Linked DNA regions of Homo sapiens: regions 2 and 3 are each linked to region 1. Evidence: promoter capture Hi-C in 16 types of primary human blood cells and fetal thymus (Javierre and others, 2016). All regions are on one chromosome and are shown on one strand. The core of a region is centred on a gene start or on the middle of the fragment in contact, and the rest is flanking DNA. Distances in the headings are between cores, read along the strand shown.

Evidence for each region. The method cuts DNA at HindIII sites, captures the fragments that hold promoters and counts their contacts. A CHiCAGO score of 5 or more calls a contact.
Region 2: a contact is called between a fragment that was not itself captured here and the fragment with the promoter of MYT1L in region 1, in 1 of 17 cell types (M2 macrophages). The highest score is 5.1, in M2 macrophages.
Region 3: a contact is called between a fragment that was not itself captured here and the fragment with the promoter of MYT1L in region 1, in 1 of 17 cell types (M2 macrophages). The highest score is 5.1, in M2 macrophages.

The regions. Positions count from the first base shown.
Region 1 is chr2:2,329,663-2,333,385 of GRCh38, forward strand. MYT1L (myelin transcription factor 1 like) reads right to left here and starts at 1,613. Exons shown (of 25, transcript NM_001303052.2): 1 at 1,305-1,613. The HindIII fragment of the contact is 6,340 bases long and covers 1-3,163 here.
Region 2 is chr2:2,940,545-2,944,380 of GRCh38, forward strand. The region is part of intron 5 of LINC01250 (long intergenic non-protein coding RNA 1250); the gene reads right to left. Among named protein-coding and RNA genes, the nearest start is that of LINC01250, 180 kb to the right of the region's middle. The HindIII fragment of the contact is 2,120 bases long and covers 457-2,576 here.
Region 3 is chr2:2,968,537-2,972,024 of GRCh38, forward strand. All of the region lies in intron 3 of LINC01250 (long intergenic non-protein coding RNA 1250), which reads right to left. Among named protein-coding and RNA genes, the nearest start is that of LINC01250, 160 kb to the right of the region's middle. The HindIII fragment of the contact is 3,235 bases long and covers 421-3,488 here.

The sequences.
Region 1 (3,723 bases), core at 363-2,862:
AGTGTATGATAGTATGGTAAGAGTTTTCAAAGTGCAATCAAGTAAAGTACCATCACACACACACATCAGTAGTGGTCTATGTTAGTTAATAAAGAAAATTTATCACTCAAGTATAACTTTAAGGAGACTTTTAAGCAATTAACTTACTGCATTTGAGGTGATAGAATCATACATGTTCTTTTAGGTCAATCAGAAAAAACAAACTTCCTTTTTTTCTGGAATGTTTCTCTTAGTAGCATTTATAACTTACAATCAACACTTTGGATTCAAAGTTCTTGAGAGGTGAAAACTTATAGGAATGCAATGCTGTTTTTTTTTTTGAAAAGGAATATTTTATAAAACTCTTTTCTTTTAAAAATAATTACATTTTTATCTGTATGGGAGACATGACTTTATTATTTTTAAAGCTACATGACACTAAATGAAGATGAACAATTAGAAAGACCCTCATATGCCAGTAAGGGTGGTTTTGGGATGCTTTGGTCTATGACGTTAATTTTGTTTAGTAGAAAATATAAACATTTGAACAAAAAGGCTCTTATATAAAATAGTTTTACTCTAAGTAACTTAGAAATTATTTAGCTTATATAGCTTTGATGGTACAAGAAATTGTCATGGTTAATACTAAATTCAAAATCTGTTCTCTATATTTTATATAGCTAACTTTCATATAAATATTTACATATATATTTTTGCTTTATTCAGATCTATCTTAAAACTAAAGTGTAGAGTTTAATCTTTTAGTTTATTAATTTAGGTGTTACAAAAAGACATATTTCTGTTATAAATAACATTTTCTTTCATTATTATGAACTTCAAACATTTAAGTTAAATTTAAAAATCTTTATTTGAGTTTCTCCACTTAAACAATATAAATCAACTTTCTTCTTACCATCAGGTAAATTCATCCAAAATAGCTAACATTTTAATTGCCTTTGCATAAAATGATGTGCTTCATTTGTAATGTAAAGTAATCCAGTAAAGTCTCTGGGAAGTTTTTGTTTCAGTATCCTCTTATCCTCCAAACACCATACATGCACCCCGTTTTGTTTTTGTTTCTTTTTTTCTTAATAAACAACATCACAGTTAAGTCATGCAACCTAATACCCATTTTAGTTTAAAGACAGATTTTTTTGTGGATTACAAAGCCTCCAGTCCAGGAACATTTCAGCTACCAGCCATGCTGTAAAAATAACTTTAAAAAGGAGCAGACAATGGAATAGCAGCCTCAGCCCTTGAGCTACGGTAAAACACATCCTGCTCACTAAGTTCCCCGAAAAATTAACCTAACGAACATCACGTACCTCACAATGACCACAACCGCTCACAAGCGAAAGACAAGTTCAATTTTGGTAACTGTGCTGGCTCAAAATACACAGACAGGGAAGAAAACCCTGTTCCACCACAAGTTTGAAAGGATGATGAGACACATGCATGCCACCAAGACGCAGAAAAGGTGGCTTTTTGTCTTCAGTGAGTATGGATATCATAACCCATAGTCCAGGGAATGAAAAAATTAAAATGCACCCACCAACAATGAGCAAAAAACCCGGGGTGCTTCAACAAGACTGCAGGGAAAAGCTCTCTCACTGTTTAGTGTGCAGTAGCTTAGGGAAAAAAAAAATGTCGCCCGGGCAGGAATGACAAATGCAGCGCGATAGGCTCGCAGGCCTCAGGGATCTGTTTGACTTCCACACACCCCCATGCACACGCTCCCACTCATCCTCTCCTAGGCTTTTTTTTTTTTCCACATTTTTTTTTCACAAGCTCCAAATCCCCGGCATATGACCTTCTGTTAAATAGATAAAAAAAAAAATTGCTTATCAGTCATGCAAATGAGGCTGAATTCATTTTCCACAACAGATGGCCTCATAGATAATGATGATGGAAGAGAGAAAATTGAATGTCTCTCACAAGGTGGCCATGGCAACCGAGAGCAGAATAATATCAATAATAAACTCACTGCATAATAAGGTTGTCAGTCCTACAAATCAAAGTCTCCAGCTAAATCAGGTATACCACCCCAGCTAGTTACCAGGTAAATAGTACACACACACACACACACACACACACACACACACACTTCCACAGAGTGGCTTGAAATCTTTCATGGTCACTGTAAAATGTGTACGTGTGTGTGTCTGTTGGTGGCAAGAAGGGGTTGGGGGAGAGAATAGTTGGATAATGAAATGACAATGTGACTTTTTTCTTTTCCTTTCCTTTCATTATGTTTTCTGCAATAGACTCGGTTTCATGCAGGACCTTCTAACTAGCCATATTGAAATCGGGATGCGGTGCTGAAGGCTTTCTCTCCTCCCTCTGCCTCCGCGCTCTCGCTCTGATGTGCTGCATTGATGCAATAGCAGCTCGCCTCAGGCTTCCACCTTGGCTCCCAGGGGGACATCCTGCAAAATGAATCAGCAGCCATCCTGAGCAGGCTGATTAAAATGAAAATGGCAAGGCACATGTCTGGGCGGAACTGGAGCTCAGCTTTGCTGCTTGTCTGGCAAGCATGCTCAATATAGCTCTTGCTAATAATGGCTTACTGCCTTTCATTTTTTAAAAAGGTATCACCCTTTTCCCCCTTCACTGACTGGTGTTGTCTGTGTGTGTGTGTGTGGTGTGTGTGTGTGTGTGCACGTATGTGTGCGTGCATGTCGCGGGGGGAAACGAGAATGGATGGTTCTATTCTTCTAATTTTCTGCTGCTCACATGCAGACTGCCTGCCTGACAGCACCATTATTTTAACACTGAACTTACTTCAGCTTTTCTTTTGGGACAGGGTGGGGGGGCGGTTGATAAGTCTTGGGGCAGAAGGGCTAGTTTTAAAATCAAGCTGCCTAAAAGGCCCAGACAAGATTTTTACACTCCAGATTCAATAATTTCTAACCAAATCTGAAGCAACAGACCTCGAGAGAACTCCGATGCTCTGCTTCACAGGCTCACAGTTGGACATGCTGAAACACAGCCTATGAAGAAACCTATTTCTGTTTCGAGCATTTGCAACCAGCCTGTTACTGTATCCTAGATATTATGCAACACAGAGAATTAAAACAGAGAAAGCTACTAGCTAATAAAATAATCGAACACAATTGAAAAAATAAATCTTGGATATTTTGTTGTTTAAAATTCTCAGGCATAGCTTCAAGATTGCCCTCAAATAAGCTTTACTTTGCAGCACCTCTGCCGAGTATTCCAGGGTTTTTCAAGGCATTCTGGAAATTAGACCATTATCACCTCTCAAAAAAATGGTTGAAAAATTAGAACGAATAATTTTTCTAAACTCATTTTACTCTACTTCTCCTATACATCTTATTCTATGTTATAAACAGTCTTTAAATTTTGCTAAATTGTCAGTTTTGCTTTCCTTTGGTAACAGATGCTTGATTTTTGTATAAAACTATCTATCTACTTATTTTTGTCTTTGTAATTCCTGTTTCTGAGACGTGATTTTTTTTTCTTCTGAGCTCTAGCCCTGTTGCTGCAGTGTGAATCAGAAATCAATAGCGCTGCCCTAATGGAGACTCCACTCGGCACGCGGCAAGGCAGCTGCAGTCTCCTCTCTCTCTTTCTCTCTCTCTCTTGCACACACACACACACACACACACACGGAACTAATGACGTCTGTGCAGCTTTTTCAGCTGATTGGGCACCACATCGGATGTTCTGTGGAGCAAAGAATAGGAGTCATTTACAGTCGGCGGAAAAAAAATGGGAGCATAT
Region 2 (3,836 bases), core at 267-2,766, 610 kb after region 1:
CTGCCAGGACACAGGGGTTGAGAGGTCCCCAGAGCCTGTCCCTGCCAGGACACAGGGGTTGAGAGGTCCCCAGAGCCTGTCCCCTGCCAGGACACAGGGCTCGAGAGGGCCTTGGGCACTTGTCAGGGTTCACAAGGATGCCGGTGCCTGGACAGCGCTCCTCACTGGCTCTGTGCCTGGGAGACCCTCCCTCCTTCAACCTCCCTGGCTCACTGCGGATTGATCTCTCCATGGCAGCCACGGGAGACAAGCCATGAAATACAAATTGTGTCACTATATGATTCTTTGTGCAAGTTAAATCCTCATATTTACATTTAAAACTAACTTTGCACAGTATGAAGACGAAAGGTAAAATTTATGCTGATTATTCAAATTTTTGTTTTTTTATTTAGAACTGCAGTAATTATCCAATAAAAACCTGCCTTGTGAAGAGCAAGACCGTGGAAGAAAGGAAAAAGCTTACCTTTCACCGCCGTCAAAGGTACTTCACTCTCACTTTTTGAACAAGGGGCCCCACAATTTCATTGTGCACGGGGCCCCGCAAATTGCAGAGCCGGCCCTGCTCCTCAGTGCACTAAGAGGGTTACCAAATGAACCAAATGAAAGCCAAGTCTCCCTCACGCTAAACAGCTGGTAACTGGCCCCCGCCATTGCCAAATACAAGGTTTTCTCCCGGCTAACACACGCTAGCAGGAGGCTCCTGTCCCTCAACTCCAGACTCTGTACTTTGCACCTGCCTGGTCCCAAGGCCCCAAAGCTGTCAGGTCAGGGAACATCAGCTCAGAGCAAGCTCAGCCTCGTCATGGCGGCAGCGGCTCATGCTCGGATGGGCTATGCTCGGCCTGATTAGATTGGCCCAAATGCTTTAAACATCAAACGAGCTGACCCCTGACATGAGACAGGTTGATTTATTATCCTGCCGGCGCTGCTGACAGCCGACACCAGGAGCCTGGCCCTGTCTGGTGATTTCTCAAGCTCTGGGCGCATGAGCGGCCCCGCATCCTCTAGCACATCAGCCCAGGCAGCCCGCTGGAATGCTAAGGGGCTCCTACCCAGGTTTGCTTTTTAAAGAAACTCAAATGAAGAAGCCAATCACGGGCAACAAGGAAAGTCTGCTGTGTGTGCCTGGAGATACTTACGGGCCACACTAGGAAAAGCAGGCAAACCTCAGCTAGAACCTGGCTGGCAGGAGGCTGGGGGTCACAGAGGGAATGAAGCCAAGGGGTGCTCCTGTCCAAAGTCGCCCTGCTTTCCCAACTGCCTGCCCAGCCACCTCCCTCTCACGTATTTCACAATGAGAATTTATTTCAGCATTACTAATTCAGAATTTATGTTAATGCGGAGTGGAGAACAAGCTCATCTGTAACCTTCATGATGAAGAACTCAGTTGCACAGACAGCACTGCAGAGGCCATAAGCCACCTGTTTACGGCCAAGGGTGGGGACCGCCCACAGGTACCTGAGAGCCCTGTACTTCCAGGCCAGCCAGCCATGCACCCATTACCTCAGCTTCTCCACTTCTTAAACCAGGTGCAAGGATTTCTCTTCGTTAAGTGTACACGAGCCCATCCCAAGTTTCCGCACATACCCAGGTGTTGGTGAAGCCCCACTTCATTAATTCAGGCTAGCGCCCACCAACGGCTGCAGCGTCAAGCCTCTGAGACATCAGCTGTCTGCTGTGCACATGGAAGTACTCTTCCTTAGGAAAGTCCTTTCCTCTTGAGTCTCAATGTACCCAACTTTTAAGTAGGGGGGAGGGGTTCATAAAATTCATTGTTCCTGGCTCGCAGGCCATTGGGAGGATTCACAAAATGATGTGCAACAGCTTGGCAAGATGCCAAGCCCCAGGGGCTTGCAGTTGTTGATGAGGAGGAGAAATGTGCCCTCCTCCCTGCTGTGGGGCCACCTCCTAAGTCTTCCTAGTTCTGGCTCCCTTTTTCCTCTGACCATTTGCCATCACTCGTTGTGGGTGCAGATGAGCTCCTGGTCTCCGGAAGAAAGTCTAAGATCCTGAGCGACGTGGCACAAACATAGATGCAGAAGCAAAGCAAGGTTCTGTCCAGCACTCACCAGGAGCCCAGGGCTGAGGCTTTGGCTAATCAGCCTCTTCATAACTTTTTTCTCTTCATAAACATGGAGGATCTGTGAGCCTGCACCCAGTCTCAGGGCTGAAAGGGAGAAGCACATGAAAGTCCTTTGCTCTGGGCTTGAAAGTCCAATGCTTACACTCCTAGGAAGTTGATAGGAAAGTAGGAACAAGGCCACCCTGCAGAGTTTAATTAAATGTTCAAGTCTATTTAGGCACTCTAAATAGGCACAACTTTTCCTAGATTTGGGAAAGGAGTAATAAACAAAGAAAGAGGAATAGTATTCCAGAAAGACATTCGTAAAGTCCTTTTAAAACTGAAATGAAATACTCTGGAACCAGATACTCAGCCTCCAGCAGGCAGCCAGACATATATCTCCATATGGGAGACTGGAAGGACCTCCTCTTGGGACTCTGAGTCACCAAAAAGGAAAGAACCAAGAAGCTGCAGAGGCTCTGCAGGGAAGCCCACGGTTGACCAACTCTGCTCAAGCTTTCAGAACTGCCAAACTGATTGCTGACCTGTCACTCTTAATCATGAGCTGATGGTCAAGGAATTCTAGACCTCAGAGAAGTGCTCCTAACGAGGAAGCCAGTGACCAGAACAATCCAACGGGAGCAAAAGCAACCTGTAGGAAGCAGAGACTATAATGGAAAAAAGAAACTTAAGAAGGAGACATTATCATTAATAGTCACCTATGAGAGAAGATACTGCACCCATATTGCAAGAACAGGATGCTCAGAAAGAAAATATTGAGAGAACTAAAAGAGCTACTAATAATTAAAAATATAAAGGCAGGCTGGACGCGGTGGCTCATGCCCGTAATCCCAGCACTTTGGGAGGTCAAGGAGGACGGATCACCGGAGGTCAGGAGTTCGAGACCAGACAGGCCAACGTGGTGAAACCTTATCTCTACTAACAATACAAAAATTAGCCAGGCTTGTTGGCACATGCCTGTAATCCCAGATACTTGGGAGGCTGAGAAAGGAGAATTGCTTGAATCCAGGAGGCAAAGGTTGCAGTGAGCTGAGACTGCTCCATTGCACTCCAGCCTGGGCAACAGAGCGAGACTCCATCTCAAAAAAAAAAAAAAAAATGCAGATTCTGGCTTCCACTTAAAATATAGAAAGCTAGATAACATCATGCCCACCTTTACTACAATACAAAAAAAGACATATAATCCATAGAATAATATCTTTACTTGAATCCAATAGAGAGCTGAAGTCAGAGTGAAACCAGCGAACCCAGATCCTAAGGAAACAGCTGTAGGGGAGCGATGAAACTCAAACACTTGCTTTTGGTGGGCAGCATAGAAGCTAGCAAGAAGAATTCAGCTGAAAGTCTGAACAAGTTACTAAACAACAAATGTGAGCTAGTGCAAGAGTATGGAACCACTGGAAGCAAAGAAAAGAAAAAAGGAATTCACACAAATTCATAGGTTCTTTTTTTTCAGGCTCACCAAGTAACAGAGGAGGATAAATGGCAGCCATTGTGGTAAAGAGAGGAAGTGCCCCTGGAAAAAAAGACCTAAAGCTTTCTACTCCAGAATGCAAAGAGAAGACCCACTACGCCTGAAAGAGGAGCCAGAATACCTTAGGCCAGAGTGTGAGACACCTGTACTGCTGGAGAAAGGTAGGATCAGGTTGAAGACCCCAGCCCCGAGATGCAGGGACACAGGGCCTACCAGAGACTGAAGCTAACCCAGCATGGGAAGGAATGCCATCACCCTCACCCCAGCACCAGGCTGGAG
Region 3 (3,488 bases), core at 788-3,287, 640 kb after region 1:
GCACTCTAGCCTGGGAAACAGAGTGAGACCAACAGAGTGAGACTCCGTATCAACAACAACAACAAAAATAAATAAAAATAAAGCTACCATATGATTTGGCAATCTCACTACTTGTTTTATATCGAAAGGAATTGAAATCACTATATCAAAGAGATACCTGCACTCTCTCATGTTGCCTACAGCATTATCCACAATATCCAAGATATGGAATCAACCCAGGTGTCCACCAATGAATAAATGAATAAAGAAAATGTGGTATAGATATACAATGTCATACTCTTCCGTCTTAAAAAAGAAAAGAAGAAAATCCCGACATTTGTGGCAATATGGGTAAATTTGGAGGACATTGCTATAAGTGAAATACGCCAGGCACAGAAGGACAAAGACTTCATGCTTTCACTTACATCTGGAATCTAAGAAAGCTTAACTCTTGAAAGCAGAGAGCAGATGGTTACCACAGGATGGGGTAGCAGGGAGGTGGGAAGATATGGAAGTGAGAAGTTAGGGGTCAAAACAATGTTTTAGTTAGACAGGAGGAATAAGTTTTAGTGATCTATTGCACAGCATGGTGACTACAGTTAAAAATAATGTAGTATAAATTTCAAAATTGCTAAAAGATTAGATTTTAAATGTTCTCACCACTAAAAAAAATGATAAGTAAGGTGAGGATAAGTTAGCTAGCTTGATTTAATTATTCCACAATTTATACATATATCAAGAAATCACATTTTGCCCCATAAATATATACAATTATTTGTCAATTTAAAAAAAAATCAGAAGACTCTTGCATCTCACTGTCAACTCCTTCTAGCATAAAATAACCCAAGAGGTACAACACATGGGGAAATTGGAGAGACAGTAGAGGAAGAAAATGTCTGCCCAGCCACAGAGGAACCTGAAGTTCTTTTCTTTTTTGTTTTGTTTTTCTTTTATTTTCTTTTATTGTGGTAAGAACACTTAACATGAGGTTTTCTCTCTTAAATTTTTGTGTACAATACATTAATTTTGGTTTTGGGTTTTTTAAACTGTATTGTATTTTTATTTCCATAGGTTTTTGGGGAACAGGTGGTGTTTGGTTACATGAGTAACTTCTTTAGTGGTGATTTGTGAGATTTTGGTGCGCCTATCACCCGAGCAGTGTACACTGCACCCAATATGCAGTCTTTTATCCCTCAACCTGCTCCCACCCTTTCCTCCAAGTCCCCACAGTCCATTGTGTCACTCTTATGCCTTTGCATCCTCATAGCTTAGCTCCCACACTTATGAGTGAGAATATATGATGTTTGGTTTTCCATTCCTGAGTTACTTCACTTAGAATAATGGTATCCAATTCCATCCAGGTTGCTGCAAATGCCATTATTTCATTCTTTTTTATGGCTGAATAGTATTCAGTGGTGTGTGTGTGTGTGTGTGTGTGTGTGTGTGTGTACATATAACATTTTCTTATCCACTCATTGATTGACAGGTATTTGGGCTGGTTCCATATTTTTGCAATTGTGAATTGTGCTGCTATAAACGTGTGTGGAAGTATCTTTTTCGTATAATGACTTATTTTCCCCTGGGTAGATACCCAGTAGTGGGATTGCAGGATCAAATGGTAGTTCTACTTTTAGTTCTGTAAGGAACCTCCACACTGTTTTCCATAGTGGTTGTAGTAGTTTACATTCCCACCAGCAGTGTAGAAGTATTCCCTGTTCGCCATACCCCAGCCAATATTTATTATTTTTTAATTTTTTTTAATTATGGCCATTCTTGCAACAGTAAGGTGGTATTGCGTTGTGGTTTTGATTGATAGACCATTACTGAGATTATGAAGTTGGTTTCTACGCAGCACTAGAGTACTGTGACCACGCTGAACCCTTGCCTGCACCTCTTCACTCTGCTCTTCATGTGGAACTAAGGCCCCTGTTCACAAGTGCTCCTCAGATTCAGAGAGGCTGGGCAGAGGGAATGGGTTTTGAAATAAGACAAATCTTGTGTCAATGAAAAGATGTACCACTTTCTAGCTCTGTGATTTGGGGAATTATTTCATCTCTGTGAAACTCAGATTGCTTGTCTCTAAGACAGATATAGTATCAGTAACATGATGGCCTGTTATTAAGATTAAATGTAAAAATGAATATAAAATACCTCAAAACATGCAGTATTAGTTAACTATTGCCAAAAGAACATTGCCTAACAAACCATCCCAAAACACAGTGCCTCGAAACAACAACCATCATTACTGTTCCTCAGTCTGTGGGTCAGTTGAGTGGTTCTGCTGGTCCTGGCCAGGGTCCCTCACACATCACACATTTGGGGTTAGATGGTGTTGACTGGCCAAGGATGGCCTGGGCTCTGCTCCGTGTGGTCTCTCTTCCTCCAGCATGCTGGCCTGGACTTGTTCTCATGGTCAAGGCAGAGGCATGAAAGGCTTCCTGAGACCAAAATCCAGAATGGGAATACTGTCATTTTCATCATTGCTATTGATCGAAGCAAGTCTTAAGGCCAGCCCAGAATTCCAGGGGTGGAGAAATAGTTTCCATCTTTTGATAGAAAAAGATGCGAGTAACATTAACAAAAGCATGTGCACGGGCTGGAGTGGAGAATTGAGACCATCAGAGAAACCAGTGCAGCACATGTGCCGGGCTCATGGGCATGCACATGGCTCTGCAGAGCTTCATCCCTCCCCTTGTCACCTCAGGCTGTTAACAGCCAATTACAAAAAACAAACCAATCCATGCATTCCTTTTCCCCACATGTCTTCTGACATAAGCAGCTTCACCAAAGTTACAGCAGGGGAAATGGCACTGAGAAGTGAAGATATAGACAAAAAAGTCTCCTGGAGATAGCAGAACCACAAGTCCTCGACATTAAAACTACAGGTAAAGATCACAGACTACTTCATGTTTGGACATTATTATTTTTCCAGCTATGTTCTGTAATTCACTAAATTGCTATTCTTTTTTTTAAGAGAATCCTTCTCAGTTATTACCTCTTTGTCTAGAGAAAACTTTATTTAGAAGTCCCCAAAATTAGGTCAACTATCTTATCCCAGCAAACACAATGGAGACTTTAGAAACATCATAGAAAAGAAAGAAATTCGAAGCCACCTTTCCAGCTAGGAATAAGAAGCTGGGAAGAAGCCTTCAAGGCACCACTCTGGACAGAGCAACAAGACAAGAAGCTGACTGACTGGGGCTTTTGCTTTTCTAAGAGGAAGAAGCATCTGCTGGAAGGCCCCTTGGTCCCTAGGCCCTGCCCTCCAATTTCTTCCTGGAATGCAGACAAGATGGCTGAGGTTGCAGCAGCCATGTTGAGACCATGAGGTGACAAGCATGAGGATAAAGAACCATCAAGACAGGAAACCCAAAATCCAGGAAGGCATTGCACAGCAGCTGCACTACCCCATATTACTCACCTTTGACCTGCTGCTCCATGAGAAAAGCCACCTCACTTCATTACACCACTGTCACTGGCTATCACTCACAGCTGGGCCCTTCCCTAAC